Regions from separate parts of the Homo sapiens genome. Here region 2 is linked to region 1. The links are contacts of gene promoters, found by promoter capture Hi-C in blood cells and fetal thymus (Javierre and others, 2016). All regions are on one chromosome and are shown on one strand. Each heading gives the region's core, a stretch centred on a gene start or on the middle of the fragment in contact. The rest is flanking DNA. Distances are from core to core; before and after follow the strand shown.

Evidence for each region. The method cuts DNA at HindIII sites, captures the fragments that hold promoters and counts their contacts. A CHiCAGO score of 5 or more calls a contact.
Region 2: a fragment that was not itself captured here is called in contact with the fragment with the promoter of DEFB134 in region 1 in 6 of 17 cell types (neutrophils, M2 macrophages, M0 macrophages and 3 more); the score reaches 6.0 in neutrophils.

What each region holds. Positions count from the first base shown.
Region 1 is chr8:11,999,400-12,002,048 of GRCh38, reverse strand. DEFB134 (defensin beta 134) reads left to right here and starts at 1,297. Exons shown (of 3, transcript NM_001302695.2): 1 at 1,297-1,341. It also overlaps the pseudogene OR7E160P and the pseudogene LOC100421446. The HindIII fragment of the contact is 7,293 bases long and covers 1-2,649 here.
Region 2 is chr8:11,731,131-11,733,779 of GRCh38, reverse strand. All of the region lies in intron 2 of GATA4 (GATA binding protein 4), which reads right to left. Among named protein-coding and RNA genes, the nearest start is that of SNORA99, 27 kb to the right of the region's middle. The HindIII fragment of the contact is 1,336 bases long and covers 659-1,994 here.

The DNA of each region.
Region 1 (2,649 bases), core at 48-2,547:
CCAAGTGTTTCTGATGCCTTGGCCCTTTGCGTCCCAAGACGTCTGTGAAAGAAAAGAAAGAAAGAAAAGAAAGAGAGAGAGAGAGAGAAAGAAAGAAAGAAAGAAAGAAAGAAAGAAAGAAAGAAAGAAAGAAAGAAAGAAAGAAAGAGAAAGAAAAAGAAAGAGAGAGAGAAAGAAAGAAAGAAAAAGAAAGAGAGAGAGAAAGAAAGAAAGATTCTTTAGCTTTTTCAGTGTCACTTCCTTACCATAGGTTCTAGCTCCCCAGGCCCTGGCATCTACTAATTCTTCCTGGCTGGCCCAGACTAGATTCAAAGTAGAATTTTTGCTATATTTCAGAACCCCTTTGTCCCAGGAGACAATATAGAAGAGTGGTTAATTAATTTGGGTTCTAGAATCTCTGTAAGACTTATCAGTCCCAGATGTGTGATTTTAGAAGAATTACTCAAATCTCTGCTTCAACATCTTGAAAATGTGAATTGTGAAAATGTCTAGTTAAGAGATCATTTGTAAGATTAAGTGAGGCAATATTAAAAAAAATACATACTACAATCCTTGATGCCTAAAAGTGCTCCAAATACCAGCTGTTAGGAATATATCTGCAGTAGTTCCCCACCCAGCCACAGTTCTAGTTACTTACAGTCAACCACAGTCCAAAATATTAAATACGCTGGGTGCAGTGGCTCATGCCTGTAATCCCAGCGCTTTGGGAGACCAAGGTGGGTGGATCACCTGAGGGCAGGGGTTCGAGACCAGCCTGGCCAACATGGTGAAACCCCGTCTCTACTAAAAATACTAAAATCAGCCAGGTGTGGTGGCAGGTGCCTGTAATCTCAGCTACTCAGGAGGCTGAGGCAGGAGAATCACTTGAACCTGGGAGGCAGAGGTTGCAGTGAGCCAAGATCACGCCACTGCACTCCAGCCTGGGTGACAGAGCAAGCCTCCATCTCAAAATAAATAAATAAATAAACACAAAATTCCATAAATAAACAATTCATAAGTTTTAAATTGCATGCTGTTCTGAGTAACACAAAATCTTGCACTACGCAGCTCCACACACCCAGAATGTGAATCATCCCTTTGTCCAGTGTATCCACACTGTAAACACTACCTGCCCATTAGTTATTGAAATCATATGCTTCTGAGATCCAGCCACTAACATCACCATGGCTCAGTGACCCAGCATCACCCGAAGGAGATGATCCCCCTTCTGAGCTATGGTCAGAAGATTAGCAATAGCCTAATGCTATGTCACAATGCCTATGTCGTTTTCCTCACTTCCTCTCATCACATAGGCATTATATCATCTTACATCAGCACAAGAAGAAGAGTGAGCATAGCACAGTAAGATATTTTGGGGGAGACAGAGTTCACATTCACATAACTTTTATAGTATTGTTATGATAGCATATTGTTATAATTGTTTTATTATTAGTTATTGTTATTAAAATCTTACTGTGCCAAATTTATAAATTTAACTTTATCATAGGTCTGCATGTATAGAAAAAAAGCACTGTATATATAGAGTTCAGTATTATCGACTGTTTCAAGCATCTACTGGGGGTCTTGGAACATAGCCCCATGAATAAGGAATAACTACTATATATTGTAAAGTTAAAGTATAAACCTAATATCTAGAGTTCATTTATTTATTCAACAAATATACCTTTGGCACTGATGGCCTGCTAGACTTTCAGCCCAATACTGGTGTAAAATGATAAATAAGACAGTCATGGAATCTACTCGGATTTCACAGTCTAATCAGAGACACAAATAATTGATATAGTAACAATTGTGACAAGTGCTATGAAAAAAAAAGGAATGGGTGCTGTAAAATTTGTAATGGGAAAGAGGACCATCTCTTCACAGAGGATACAGAAGCTGCTTCCTTCTGCATCTCCCACTGTTGGCTAGAATACATTTCTGTTTATTAGGATTGTCATTTGGAAAGGCTGCATATTGAATCTGTATGGCTCAGGGTCAGACAGGGACATTTCAATTGCAGCTGAGAGTATGGCAGTTGCAGAACAACCACAGATCAGGAAGATGAGAAGAGTAGCATGATGACCCTAAAGAAATACCAAACCCAGGAGGCAGAAGAAAGAGCCATCTAGTCCTAGCGTGGAGCATATTGTACTTCTCCATTTTCTAATCCCAGAGCACCATGTGGCCTTAGGGGAATATATGGATGAAAAGAAAAAGCTGGTGTGCTGGTAAGCCACATACTTGTTTTCAAATGATGCGCACATCTCCCCTCTTTATCTCTAAAGTCTATGAACTAGGTCAGCTCCCAACTCGTGGCACCTACAGTGAACCAGACGCTGAGCCAGGGGAGGTCTAGATAACAAGAGACGATCTCTGACAGTTGCTGAAATTCTTCTTTACCTTTTAGAGCAAAACTCAGAGGCTGTCCTGTTCTGATATTTAAGTAAAATCACGAATTGCTGGTAGTTGGTGACCTAGTCAGTGAACGAGCTCCTTATCAATAGTGGGAGAATGATAGTAATAGTCCGTTCTGGGGAAAAGAATTTGGCACTGTAATGGTCTTGGGGTTTTTTAACTTTGGCTTTGTAAGCAACATTATTTTTGCTTGGGTTAAAGCCTCTTCCAGCTGTTTATCAACATAGATAAAAGTATATTGCTTTATTATTT
Region 2 (2,649 bases), core at 77-2,576, 270 kb after region 1:
TACAGGAAAGAACAGAGCAGTGTGCTGAACACACGTGGGATCATACCATGGATACTCCTCTGCAGCTGTTTCTGCAGGGACGCATATCTGTTTAGACATTTTTCCATATCAGCACAGATCTACTTCTCTCTTCGAAGAGGATTTATTAGTTTGGCATTGTTAAGGCACATAACACTTACATTCTACTCCATAATTCTCACAGCTGTTTAGCTGTACATGATATTTGAAAGGATTCAATGCTAATGCCAATCTTTTTATGCCACAGCCTCCCCATTCCTAATACCTTGGCTGCATTTCAGCAAGTAATTTTTCACTGCTACACACAACAGGGCTGCAATGAACATCACTGCTTTAGCTTCCGTGCCAGTGTGTCTCTAGTTTGTTTTGATTTCTGATAAGGCAAGTTCCCCTTTCTTAAGTCTCCTTTTAAAAAATTATCTTGGCTATTCTTGTACAATAACTCTTTCATATAAATTTTATAATCAGCTGGACACGTTGTATTTAAGAAATCTTGCTGGGATGTTTCCTGAGACTGTGTTAAATTTATAGATTTGTTTGAGGGAGTTTGGAATAAAGAATGCTGCCAACTTTTCCAATCCAAGGATCTAGTATCTTTCTCCATTTATTCATGTCTTCTTTTATGCCCTTCAGTAAAGCTTTATAGCTCCCTCCACAGGGAATTTACATTTGTTTAGTGAAGTTGACCAGTATTTTATCTGCAAATAATGAAAACATTGCCGCTTTCTTTCCTATCTCATTCATTTTATTAACAAGGAAATTTACTCCTGGCAACCCTAACCCACATGTGATGGTATTTGGAGGTTGGGCATTTGGGAGGCGAACAGGCAGGAGAGCTGAGAGGTATGGACCAGCTCTCGAAGTCTTTCCCTCCATGTGGTCTGGATTTATATTATATTCGGCAGTTTTCTATAGTTGGGGATATGAGTTATCTCTTAATTTCACTGCAGATAAAAGTTTTACTTGATTTGGGGGGTTCTTTTCATCTGATGTGCTGGTCTTCGGGGAGGAAAGGGAGAAAGCAAACCTTTACTCTGCTAGCCTTCGCAGGAAGTCTCTACCTCCTCTTCAGACCAGACACACATCCTCCTCAAATTCCGTCGGCTCCTCTTCCTCTAGCCTCCAGACTCGGGTTCACCTGACGTGTTCATGAATCTTTATGGCAATCAATCACATCTATCTTGAATTATCTATTTTATCCTTGTTTTGCAATAGCAGTTAGTTTTTTGGTGTTACTTCACGTTTTCTTCCCAACCTCTCTCCTTCTGTTTTGTTTTGTTGCTCTAGCCTCAGAATTCTTTAGCCAAGCAAATCAAACATTTACAAATCAAATATAAAGTAGATGAAACGGAGCTTCTCTGCAATAGGGGCCCCACAGACCCTGCTCTCAGCCTTCCTCCCATCTAAAGCACCTGCACTGAAATCAGTGCCCCTGGAGAATAGTTCGATGACAATACGTCTAGTAGTTCCATCTGCCTTTTTACAAATACATTTCACTTACTTGGCAGACATCTTAGGTAGAGCATGAAGCTGCTACAAAATCTACAGTCTTTTATTACACATGGTTAATAGCTTTAATCCAATCTGATTTGCATTCCAAAGAAATTTTAAAAGTGCATCCACTCCTATATTTTATGAATGTGACTTAAAATTTTAATGCAGATTATAAATATGATAGATTTGCAGATCAAAACTCGGTTGCTTGTAGTACAACATTTAAAAATCACCATTTTCCACCTCCTCACCAAGGATAACCTTCTCCTTAGTGATCAGCCCTGCTGTGATAGCAGGATAACACTGAGGCTTGGGCAAAGAGAAACACTGAAGAGCCAGAAAGGCAATCTTGTAGAACCAATTCTGGATGGCTAGTTCTACCTAATCGTCCATCAATGCTACTTACACCTTTGGCCAAAGAAGCAAATAGAATGAAGTGTTAGGAAAAAGGTTTTCACAATTTACTTTCTACTTACTAAGCTTGTACACTGCCTCTCCATTTTTCTCTTCTTTAAATTGTGATAAAATACATATAAAATTAGCCATCTTAACCATTTTTAAGTGTACAGTTCAGTGATAGTAAATGTGTTCACACTGTTGTGAAACTAATCTCTACAACTGTTTTCATCGTGCAAAACTGAAACTCTGCACCCATTAAACTCTAACTCCCCATCCTCCCGCACCCCGATCCTGGCCCCACCACCTGGCAACCCCTCTTCTGCTTTCTGTCGTCATGAATTTGACGGCTCTGGGGGCCCCACAGAAGTGGGATCATAGAGTGTTTGTCCTTTGGTGACTGGCTTGTTTCACTTAGCGTAATGTCTTCAGGATTCATCTGTTGTAGCAGTGCAAGACTTCCTTTTTAAGGCTGAGTAATACTCCACTGAGCACACAGACCACATTTGTTCATTCATTCATCCACGGATGGACACCTAGGCTACTTCCACCTTTTGGATATTGTGTCTCTCTCTTTTAATCAATAATGCGCTCATTTTTACAAGAAAATAAACATTGGGAATAAATGTAAACTCAAAATACATCAATCAAATGTGGATCACTGTGGTTTTGCTGATCCAGCCAGGAAACTCCTCAAAACCGGGTCTTCATAAGACTCAGTCTTCCAGGAGGAAACTCAGA